Regions from separate parts of the Homo sapiens genome. Here all the other regions are linked to region 3. Evidence: promoter capture Hi-C in human tissues and cell types (Jung and others, 2019). All regions are on one chromosome and are shown on one strand. The core of a region is centred on a gene start or on the middle of the fragment in contact, and the rest is flanking DNA. Distances in the headings are between cores, read along the strand shown. Region 1 has its middle 17 kb from the start of CIB4. Region 2 has its middle 10 kb from the start of SLC35F6. Region 3 holds the start of KCNK3 (potassium two pore domain channel subfamily K member 3). Region 4 holds the start of CIB4 (calcium and integrin binding family member 4).

Region 1 (3,077 bases), core at 307-2,806, 35 kb before region 3:
CGCCCGGCCTTGCTTTGTTCTTTATAGAAGTGTAGCTACTTCTTGGGAGGGGCACTTGAGGGATAAAAGAGTATAAATTGGGTACAATGTATACTGCTCAGGTGATGGGTGAACTAAAATCTCAGAAATCACCACTAAAGAATTTATCCTTGTAACCACAAACCAATCGTACCCCAATAACTATTGAAATTAAAATTAAAATTTAAAAAAAAGTGTAGCTACTTCCAATCATGCCTGGCCCTGACCAGAGTGCCCTCAAAAGGCCTCACCAACATCCAGCCCACAGGTATCAAGTTTATATCTCGATTTCTTCAGAGAAGAGTCCATCATGTACTTTACTGCAATACAAGCCTAAGAAAGCAGGGTTCCTCAGGGAACTAATGTGGGCATCTCCATCCAGAGGAGGGTGACCAGGGAGGAGGGGGATCTAGAAACCATCTCAGAAGTAAAATGAATTTGGGATTTTTTTTTTTTTTTTTTTGAGATAGAGTCTCACTCTGTTGCCAGGCTGGAGTGCAGTGGCACAATCTTGGCTCACTGCAACCTCTGCCTCCTGGATTCAAGCGATTCTCCTGCCTCAGCCTCCCGAGTAGCTGGGATTACAGGCACATGCCACTATGACCGGCTAATTTTTGTATTTTTAGTAGAGATGGGGTTTCACCATGTTGGCCAGGATGGTCTCGATCTCTTGACTTCATGATCCGCCTGCCTCAGCCTCCCAAAGTGCTGGGATTATAGGCATGAGCCACCGTGCCCGCCTGAATTTGGGATATTGAGTCTAGGGAAGAGCCAATCGGGAAGAACATGCAATTATTAGTGAGGACTCTCACTCCTAAGTGAGAAAAATCCAACCAAGTAAGTTAAGCAAGAAAAAAATGTATTGGCTTATGTAAAAGGGCAAGTCAAGTAAGCTTCAGGAATGGCTGGATCCAGTAGCTCAACATGTCCTCAGGGTTCTCTAAGTCTCTCTCTCCTTCACCTGATCGTTTCTACTTGGCATTATCTATGGCTGGATCTTGTGCCTCAAACTAAATCCCTGGGGCTCTGTCTCATGCCATCTATCAAACATTTTCTCTCCACATGGCAAGAAGCCTTCTTGGTCACCAGTAGCACTAGATTCTTATCCTATCAGCTTAGAGACCCCACCAGAATGAATTGGTTTCCTCTAGAAGCTCTTTTGGGAAAGTCCTAGGCCCAAACTTGAATCACAGCCCTGTCCCTGAAACAGTACCCATTGCCCGATCAGGCATTCCTGTTGGCCTGGCCTGGGTCATGAGCACACTCCCTGGTTTTGAGAAGACTGCAGTCAGCTCTGCCTTTCACATGAAAAAGGTTCCCCACAGGAAAGAGGGGTTCTGTTACTGCAGCAGGGGTGGAAGAGGTGCTGGGCAGATAAAAACAGCAGACGTCCACTGCAGCTGTCTATAAATTCATGAGAAATCCTGGGGTGTTTCCCTGTAATGCAAGTTTGATCACACCACCATCTTGCTTAATATCCTTCAGGGGCCTACAAGGTAAGTTCAGCTTCCTTCAAATGGCATGCAAAGCTCTCCAGGCTCTGGCCCTGGCACCCTGCTCAGGTTCACCTCCAACCACTCTCTGCCCACCTGCCCCCCGGTCCCTGGCACATCCCACCCAGAGCCAGTCAGGTCTCACTCTGTCCTCCCATGTGCCAGGCTTTCTCCTAATTCTACAGCACACCCAAAGGCAAATTAAGAAAAGTTTCCTGAAATCTGAGGGGGAAAAGAAAAGTACACACCAGAGTGCAACCTATAACTGTTCTTAGAAGTGGCTCTGCTGAGAGCACCTAGCCCAGAGCTAACTTCAAAGCCATGGCCGGGTGCAGTGGCTCACGCCTGTAATCCCAGCACTTTGGGAGGCCGAGGCGGGCAGATCAATTGAGGTCAGGGGTTCGAGACCAGCCTGGGCAACATGGCAAAATCCCGTCTCTACTAAAAATACAAAAATTAGCTGAGTGTGGTGGCGCATGCCTGTAATCCCAGCTACTTGGGAGGCTGAGGCATGAAAATCGCTTGAACCCAGGAGGTGGAGGTTTCAGTGAGCCAAGATCGTGCCACTGCACTACAGCCTGGGCGACAGAATGAGACTCCATCTCAGAAAAAACACAAACCCACAAAGTCCTTCACAGGCCCCCTCCCCACCTCACCCATCAGCTGCCTGGAGCTGGAAGGATAAATCTCCTCCCACCACCAGGCCTATCGCAACTATCCCCTTCCTTGGAGTCCAGGTCTAAGCAACTCTCCCCACCTCCCCAGCCCCAGGAAGTGTTTTTTTACTCTCACTCACATCTAAGATCTGCCTCCCAAACCCTCTTGCCTGCACCAGAATTAGCCTCTTTCTTGCATTACTGATAATAGGGATATCAAAAAAATGATAATAAAATACTGGCTAGGATATTTCCCCAAAGCTAGGATGGGCAGGTTAAAATAGCACCTCAGTGGGACACCAACTCCCAGGTCCAGGATGGACCGAGCAGAGCCCCGTCGGGCTCATTTGCACTTTTTCTCCAGCCTGAGCTGAAGAAGTGAGCCCTTCTCTCCCACATTCTTCTCCACCGCAGCTCCTTATCTTGTGCAAACAACTGATCCCAGAGTAACACACAACATTGCAAGGACACATCAATTTCAGGCATAAGATAGTCACATTCCAAATTAGGAGATGGTGGTGCTCTAAATAAAACAATCCTCAGAGACATAATTCAACAAATTCATTAAATGTATATTACTAAATGGTATTAACATCTCAGACTAAGTAATCCCCTTTAGAGGCCCGTCAGTGCTTTCCCATACTCCCCAAGAATGATAGGTAGACCCTGGCTGTTTTATACTAGCCTAGCTCAAAGGATCAACTCTAGTGGTGCATTCCAAAACAAAAGAACATCTTCCACAAAGCATTCTAGTCTCCACCTGAAAAGGCAGACACAGTTTATGTTCCTAAAATGTCATTTTTTCAATTAAAAAAAAAGAAAAACATCAATTTACTGTAAAGTAACTTTTAATTCCATAACAAAGGACAACAAGGAGAGAGAGAGAAGGTGAAGGTTTGACTTCAAGATT
Region 2 (2,700 bases), core at 191-2,690, 61 kb after region 3:
GACAAGGATCATTTGAGCTCAGGAGTTCAAGACCAGCTTGGGCAACATAGCAACACCCTGTCTCTATTTTTTTAAAAATAACACATTTTTTAAAAAATTAAAAAAAGAGAATGGTGTTAAATACAGGAACCTAGGCTTCCCTAGGGTGAAGGCCATGTCCAAGGGGGCTGGTATCAATTTAGAGATGTAACTGAGTCAGAGGGAGAAAATATCGTAAGCTTAGTCAACAGCATATTAGAAAGGAAAATGTGCCTGAGATGCACTAATTCAATTAGCTGTTGTCATAGTCACTGTCTCTGAGCAAGGGCTCTGAGCTGGATGCCAGACCAGCAGGGTGCCAGACTGAGAAATGAAATGCAGGATACATATCTAATTTGAATTTTAGACAAATAATGAATCATTTTTTACTCTAAGCGTAACTGTAATAGGTTAATTGCCTGACACTCCTGTCAAATCAATACACCCAGACACGGGGTTGCAGCAGAGAAAGAGGTTTAATACAGGTCCACTGAGAAGACAGGGAGGAAACTTCAAATCTATCTCCCCAGGGAGTCAGGGGCTGGGGGTTTTTTGTTGTTTGTTTTTTGTTTTTTTTGAGACAGGGTCTCTCTCTGTTACCCAGGCTGGAGTGCAGTGGCGCAAAAATGGCTCGCTGGAGCTCGACCTCCTGGGCTCAAACAATCCTCTGCCTCAGCCTCCCATACAGCTAGTATCACAGGCGTGTGCCCATGCCTGGTTAAAATTTTTTTTTTTTTAATAGAGACAGGGTCTCACTTTGTTGCCTAGACTGGTCTCCTGGGCTCAAGCAATCCTCCCACCTTGGCCTCCCAAAGTGCTGGGATTTCAGGTGTAAGCCACTTCGCCTGGCCTGGGGCTAGGGTTTTTAAGGGTTTTGGAGAGGGCTGAAGTGGGGAGATCGTTGATTAGGCAAAGAGTGCATGAAGTCATGGGACAAGGAAATGAAGAAACTATTCTTATGTTGCTTTCATTCCTCTGTGGAGGTCTTCAAACTGGTTGGCATCAGCTGTTTCACTGGAATTCAGGGACCTGAAAAACATCTTAAGCAATTCTTAAACAAAACCCTTATGATTCTTTTTTTTTTTTTTTTTGAGATGGTCTCACTCTGTTGCCCAGGCTGGAGTGCAGTGGCACAATCATGGCTCACTATAGCTTCAACCTCCCCAGGCTCAGGTGATGCTCCTACCTTAGCCTCCCGAATAGCTAGGACTATAGGCACAAATCCACCACACCTGGCTATTTTTTGTATTTTTTGTAGAGACGGGGTTTTGTCACGTTGGCCAGGTTGGTCACTGAGTTCAAACGATCCACCTGCCTCAGCCTCCCAAAATGCTGGGATCACAGGCCCAGCCAAGCCTTATGATTCTAATGTCAGAGATCCAATCTAAAGGAACAATGGGGATTCAAGTGGTCAGTATCTAGTGCTATGCGACTTTCTGTTACAAGGAAGTGGGTGAAAGTGCAGCCTCATTATGCTTAATTATAACTATATTTCTGTCCAAGATTCTTGTTAAGCCTGTGAGGACAGCTTCATAAGTATGTCCTAAACACTAGGGACATACTCATACTACAAAGTGACTCATTGCTTATCTGAAATCAAATTTACCTGGGAGTTTCTGTTTTATCTGAATCTGACTTGATCCTGCTCTTAGAGGACCAAGCTTCCAGAATCTAATGACCACCTCAAAATTAGTGATCAGGGCTGGTCGTGGTGGCTCACACCTGTAATCCCAACACTTCAGGGGGCCGAAGCGGGTAGATCACCTGAGGTCAGGAGTTCGAGACCAGCCTAGCCAACATGGTGAAACTGCATCTCTACTAAAAAGACAAAAATTAGCCAGGCATGGTGGCAGTCACCTGTAGTCCCAGCTACTCGGGAGGCTGAGGCAGGATAATTGCTTGAACCTGGGAGGCAGAGGTTGTAGTGAGCCGAGTTCGTATCACTGCACTCCAATCTGGGTAACAGAGTGAGACCTTGTTTCAAAAAAAAAAAGATTAGTGATCAGCACTGATGGGGGTGAGAGGTGGGAGCGGGGAGGTGGGTAGAGACCAAAGGAGATGATAAGAAAGAAAACAGAGGCCAGATGTAGTGGCTCATGCCTGTAATCCTAGCACTTTGAGAGGCCAAGACCTTGAGGTCAGGAGTTTGAGACCAGCATGGCCAACATGATGATGAAACCCTGTCTTTACTACAAATCCAAAAGTTAGCCAGGCTTGGTGGTGCACGCGTGTAATCCCAGCTACTTGGGAGGCTAAGGCAGGAGAATTGCTTGAACCCAGGAGGTGGAGGTTGCAGTAAGTCGAGATTGTGCCACTGTACTCCAGCCTGGGTGATAGAGAAAGACTCCATCTAAAAAAAAAAATTAAATTAAAAAAGAAAGAAAAAAGAGAAGGTTTGAGAATGACTTTAGGAGGGCCTGCAGCTAGAAGGAGCAGGTGAGTTATAATCTGATCATCTCTGGTCACCATAGAAACCAGCTGTAAATTCAGCCAGAATGAGCTGATGAGCTCCAATATCTATGCCTCTCTGCCAGTGTAGACAGTCCACACTCCCTTCCTCCAAGATCTAGTCTTGTCAGACCTGCTTCCAGCCGGAATCCACCCCAGTCCTCTTCCTCTCAAGCCTCTTGTTCCTCTTTCTAGCCACAGTTCCAGGTGACTGCCCATCAATACCAACCCCGC
Region 3 (2,700 bases), core at 173-2,672:
TGCCTCCTGAGTCTGCTCTCAGTCAGGGGCCTTGGTGTCTCTTCCCTGTCTCTCTGCCTGGCCCATGCCAGGGTCCTGTGAAGGACTTTTTAACCCTTCTTGGCACTGAGATTTGCATTCCAATCATTCTGCTCACTCAGCCCATCCAAGTCTGGAGTTGTTTAGAGCTGGGCAAGGCCTGTGGGATCATCTGCTACGACACCTCGTTGAAAAGATAAGGAAACAAGGCTCTGAGAGGGTCAGTAATGCCTGAGTTTCCACTACCCTTCCCACCTCACCACCATAGCCACCATGTTTGACAAATGAAGAAACTGAGGCATAGGGACCCCCTCTCCTGCCCCAGTTCCCGCAGTCTGCCAGTGAGCCTCCTGCTCTGGGCCCCACCTGCCCAATTCCAGCTAGATCCCGGTTCTGCTGGGATGCCCTAAGGTGGTGGCAGGTGCTATCTCTGGCAACTCAGCCTAAGCCCAGCCTGGTGCACGGGTGCAAGACAGGAACCATGGGAGTCGGGACAGCCTAGAAGCCCCTGGGAGCGAAGCAGGAGGCCTAGACTCCCAGCCTGTGCCTTCTCAGCCAGTTCCAAGAACTGTGCTGACCTGGGAAGGCACACATTGCCTGAGAACAGGGCTTTCCCTTGGGTGTCAGCTCATGTGTGCCCAGGTCCACAGCTGGGCCCTGCCTGCTTCCAAGACAGCCAGAGTCTGGCCCAAGGGAGGAAGGAGTGTGGCCTGGGAGGAAGGAACGCTTGGCTGAGTCCCAGTGCTGTCACGAAATCACTGCGTGCCCATGCGTGTCACTTGACCTCTCTGGGCCTCCATTTCCTCATCCATAGGATAAGGGCAGGACAGCGAGGCCCCAAGTGCCTCCTGGCTGCAATATGCTGTGATGAGGGTGGAGGGTGGGGTGGGGAGGGGCTCGCTCTGCCTTCCTTGCCTTCCTGTCTGTTTCTCTGTCATTAGTTTATCTCCAGCAATCCAGGCCTCTCTGTCTCAGTCTGTTGCTCTCTCTGTTTCCATCTTTTGCTCTGTATTTTTCTGCCCGCCTCTCTTCTTTTTCTGTCTGAGTGCACCTCTGATTTTATCTCCTCCTCTGTCACACAGCCCCCTTCCCTCAGTCCTACACTGCCTTTCTCCCATTCTCCGTAGTTATCAGCGTTTCGCTGTCTAGTTTTCTCTGTCTCTCGGGCTCGCTCTCTCTCTCTTTCTCTCTCTCTGTCCTGCCCGGGCTCTCTCGCGGCCGCCCCTCCCGTCCCCTCCGCCAGCCCCCCTCCTCCCTCCTCGGCGCGTCTCCCCAGTCCTTATTTGGCTGGGCGGGAGGGCTGGCGGGAGGAGGCGGCCTGCGGGCGGGGGGCGGGGGGCGGGCGCGGGGCCGGGCGGAGGAGGGCGGTGGGTGGTGCTGAAGGGACAGCTCCGCGGCGGCGGCGGCGGCGGCGGCCCCGGGCGCTGAGCGGGTGCCCGGCGCGGAGAGCGGCGAGCGCAGCCATGCCCCAGGCCGCCTCCGGGGCAGCAGCAGCGGCGGCCGGGGCCGAGGCGCGGGCCGGGGGCGCCGGGGGGCCGGCGGCGGCCCGGGCGGGACGATGAAGCGGCAGAACGTGCGCACGCTGGCGCTCATCGTGTGCACCTTCACCTACCTGCTGGTGGGCGCCGCGGTCTTCGACGCGCTGGAGTCGGAGCCCGAGCTGATCGAGCGGCAGCGGCTGGAGCTGCGGCAGCAGGAGCTGCGGGCGCGCTACAACCTCAGCCAGGGCGGCTACGAGGAGCTGGAGCGCGTCGTGCTGCGCCTCAAGCCGCACAAGGCCGGCGTGCAGTGGCGCTTCGCCGGCTCCTTCTACTTCGCCATCACCGTCATCACCACCATCGGTAACGGCTCGCCGGGCGGGGGGCGGGAACCCAGGGCTGGGCGCGGGGCTCCGGGAGTCGTCCGGGGCCGGCTGGGGCTGGGGGCGGGGGCTCCCCCGAGAGGGGCTGGGCGCCGAACCCTGCGCTCGCAGAAACCCGAGTTCAGCCTGGCGTGTGTGCTCCGCGGGGACGGAACTCGGGGAGGCGTCGATTCCTGGCTCCGGACCTGACTCTCCGGCCGGGCCAGCCCTAACTTGGCCCTGCCATGTTGCATAGGCCCCCAGGGACTCCGAAGTGTGTGAGAGGGGCAGGGACGACCGGCGGAGGCTCGGGCAGGAGGGGTGTGGCCGGGCCAGGCCCTGAACAGGGCGCTGAGAGTGAGCGGCGGGAGAGCGCCAGTGCTCCGTATCCCTGAGGATCGGCTTCCACAGCCTAGCAGGTCTACACCTGCTGGGCTCTGGGGAGGCATGAGGATGTCGGAATGCGGCACTTCGGGGCACTTGGGGCCACCCTATAACGGCGGCTGTGAGTGTACGTGTGTCTGCGTGTTTCAGCTCCAGGAGTTTGGTCGCCACCAGTCAGTGCCTGTGATTTTCTCAGAGCGGCAGAATTGGTGCGGGAAGCCAGATCTGGCCTTGTCAGCCTTCTTCTCTGCTGTCCCAGCAAAACAGTCACCTCACAGGAATAACCCCAGTTCTTTCCAAGCCAGGGCAGATCACCATGTAGGAGGCCACACGTACACCCAGACTGTCAGACAACACAGGCATAGGCACACATGCACACAGATACACACAGGCACTCACAGGGTACACACAGGGCGGGCACACACACACACACACACAGAGAGAGAGACAGAGAGAGA
Region 4 (2,953 bases), core at 235-2,734, 51 kb before region 3:
GGCACCTGGCTTGGCCCAAACACACAAACACACACACACCTCTCACACTATTCACTCTCCCCCACAGCCCCACGAGAAGGGTATTTGGCCACCTCCACGTTGAATGAAGTTTCTTCCCCACTGGACAGCGGTCCGCATGACAACAGGGAGCGGGGCTGCTCACCACCCCACCCTCAGGGCCTCCACGAGGCCAGCACATCACAGGCACCGGAGAAAGGGCAGGGAGGGAGGGAGGGAGGGAGGGAGGTGGAGAGGGAAGTCTGGGCTTCAGTCATGCATCCAAGTTTACCCAGCCAGTGGACAGCCAAAATGGGCTTCAGACATAAGTTCCCCAAGTCCTTTCCTTGTTCTCCTCATTATTCCAAAGAGGTTCTGTCCAGCTCCATGATCCTCTGAAGAAACCTCACTTTGGATCCCAGTAAAAGGTTAGCAGCCTAAAGCCTGGTGTCTCATTCAGCTCCAGTGGGGCTCTGCGGATCGTGGCCCCTGGGCCCTCCCATCCCTGCCTGCCGTGTCCCAGCCCCATCTCCAGGGCTGTGTGGCTCTGAGCAGGGACCACACTCAGGGACCAGCGTGAGGCTGTATTAGGGCAAGAATCCAGCTCAGAGGGAGGAGCTGGGAGAAGGAAAGAGGGGCGGGGCTTCTACTCACCACAGAATTTCATTTCTGGTCAGGAAGGTCAGGGCCTGCAACAAATCACAGAGAAGCGACGTGTCCACTCCATTCATCCCTGCTGTGGCCCCTGGGGAGTGGCGCAATTCAGAGGCTGGGGAGGAAATGCCCATTCTTTTGCTGCACAGCTGGGGGAACCCCAGGTTGAGGTGGATGCCTGAGGTGGCAGCAGGAGAGGAAATGGTGCTCTTTCTTACCCCCTAGTCTCTTACAGCCCTGGGAAGGAGGGCATTGGCACAGATGTGGAGAGCAGATCAGAGACAAGAGTGAAACTCTGGGCTCTGGTGCAGGAGACAGATGGAGGAAGGTAACCTTAGAGATCTCATCTGGGCCACATGGATGCAGATTTAGCAAAGAGAGGGACCACCGCTACCCCGCCTGGTAAACTCTAGAGCAAGCTTGTCCAACCCACGGCCTGCAGGCCACATGCAGCCCAGGACAGCTTTGAATGGGGTCCCAACACATATTTGTAAACTTTCTTAAAACATTATCAGATTTTTTCGTGATTTTTTTTTATTAGCTCATCAGCAAGCATTAGTGTTAGTGTATTTTATGTGTGGCCCAAGACAATTCTTCTTCCAATGTGGCCCAGGGAAGCCAAAAATTGGACACCCCTGCTAGAGCGTCAGGAAGGAATTTTCCCATTCATTCCACCTGCTTTAGGAAGCTCCCACCTCTGCCCAGAGTCCCTAGCCCGATCTACCCACCTGGTACTCTTCCAGGTCCTCCCAGTGCATCTGATACCTCAAGCATTGCCCCATGCCAACCACACCTTTCTGTCTGCCAGCAGTAGAACCTCAGCCTCAAGGACTCGCCAGCTGAGGCACCTCGTTGATCCAGTTGCCATGGTGACCTACATTCCACCTTCTGCCCATTCCACCTGAGTTACTGAGTTGGCAAAGAAACAAATTCTTTTCATTCCCATTCCACCTGAGTTGCTGAGTTAGCAAAGAAGCAAATTATTTTCAATCCCAAAGCTAAGAGGCATCAGTCCCATACAACAAGCAGAAAGGCAGTCCAAAGATGGGGCTGAGAGTCACACTGTCAGCTCAGGAGTCACAGTGCCTGGGCTCCAATCCCAGATCCACCCCATTGTAACCTGGGACAAGCTCTTCAATATCTGTGTGTCTTAGTTTCCTCATCTGTAAGTGGGGATGATAATCATGGGATTGTTGTGAGGATTGACGAATACAGGGAATAATGTCAGGCACATAGTAAGTGCTCAATAAATGCTAGCTATTTGAACCACAACCTAGCTGGGCATGGTGGCTCACGCCTCTAATCCCAATACTTTGGGAGGCCAAGTCTGGTGGATCACTTGAGGTGAGGCGTTTGCTACCAGCCTGGCCAACATGCAGAAACCCTGTCTCTACCAAAAAATACAAAAATTAGCTGGCATGGTGGCATGACCTGTAGTCCCAGTGACTCCAGAGGCTACGATGGGAGAATCGCTTGAACCTGGGAGGTAGAGGTTGCAGAGAGCCAAGATCGCACCACTGCACTCCAGCCTAGGACCCTGTCTCAAAAAAACAAAAAAACCCTACAACCTGCTGGGTGCAGAGGTGCACACCAGCACACCTGTAGTCCCAGCTACTCAGGAGGCTGAGGCAGGAGGATCGTTTGAGCCCAGGAGTTCATGGCTGCAGTGAGCGATGATCATACCACTGCACTTCAGCCTGGGTGACAGAGCAAGACCTTGTCTCTAACAAATCAAAATAAAAAATAAACAAGGAACCACAACCCCAGGACTATGCCAGGCATGGGGATGCCGAAATATATCAGCATAGATCCAACCTCAGGGAGTGGCCCAAAAAGTACAGAAAAGGGCGTTCCACCCCATCAGTCAGGGTCTCTGCAGGAACAAAGGGCACCATCAAATCAGGATCATGTGAAAAGGGTCTAAAAAAAGGACTCTCCACAAAGATGTGTTCAGGGTGTAGGGAAGTCACATGGATAACTGGATAACACAGACTCCTGAGCCCAACAACAAAGAGCTGCTACCCGACCCAGCACCACCCACCTGGAAGCACCACCCCAGCCCCACTCTCTCCTCTTTCTGTGATCTCCTACAGGGAAGAGAACAGGGCGGAGCAGGATGGGCAGACAGAGACAACGTCCAGCACAGGCATCAACATCACAGGCCAGGAGGGCCTTCCAGAAGCCATCACTCCCTCCCCTGCCTCCAGGAGGGTCTGCACACCCACCTTTGTCATGAAAGGCTGGTCTCCTTGTTCTAGAACACATCTTCCCTATGCTCTCCTGAGTAAACATCCCAGTGATT

Evidence for each region. Contacts are between HindIII fragments. The study calls those that stand out against the background at their distance.
Region 1: a contact is called between a fragment that was not itself captured here and the fragment with the promoter of KCNK3 in region 3, in 2 of the 25 tissues and cell types used here (mesenchymal stem cells and spleen).
Region 2: a contact is called between a fragment that was not itself captured here and the fragment with the promoter of KCNK3 in region 3, in 8 of the 25 tissues and cell types used here (H1 embryonic stem cells, IMR-90 fibroblasts, aorta and 5 more).
Region 4: the fragment with the promoter of CIB4 here is called in contact with the fragment with the promoter of KCNK3 in region 3 in 4 of the 25 tissues and cell types used here (mesenchymal stem cells, mesendoderm cells, neural progenitor cells and 1 more).

The regions. Positions count from the first base shown.
Region 1 is chr2:26,656,550-26,659,626 of GRCh38, forward strand. No RefSeq gene overlaps it. Among named protein-coding and RNA genes, the nearest start is that of CIB4, 17 kb to the left of the region's middle. The HindIII fragment of the contact is 8,435 bases long and covers 1-3,077 here.
Region 2 is chr2:26,752,552-26,755,251 of GRCh38, forward strand. No RefSeq gene overlaps it. Among named protein-coding and RNA genes, the nearest start is that of SLC35F6, 10 kb to the right of the region's middle. RefSeq lists enhancers at 486-1,233, 1,234-1,981, 1,982-2,700. The HindIII fragment of the contact is 6,016 bases long and covers 1-2,700 here.
Region 3 is chr2:26,691,300-26,693,999 of GRCh38, forward strand. It overlaps KCNK3 (potassium two pore domain channel subfamily K member 3), which reads left to right and starts at 1,423. Exons shown (of 2, transcript NM_002246.3): 1 at 1,423-1,859. The coding sequence starts at 1,577. The HindIII fragment of the contact is 34,558 bases long and covers 1-2,700 here.
Region 4 is chr2:26,639,882-26,642,834 of GRCh38, forward strand. CIB4 (calcium and integrin binding family member 4) reads right to left here and starts at 1,485. Exons shown (of 7, transcript NM_001029881.3): 1 at 1,380-1,485; 2 at 652-686. The coding sequence starts at 1,433. The HindIII fragment of the contact is 6,817 bases long and covers 79-2,953 here.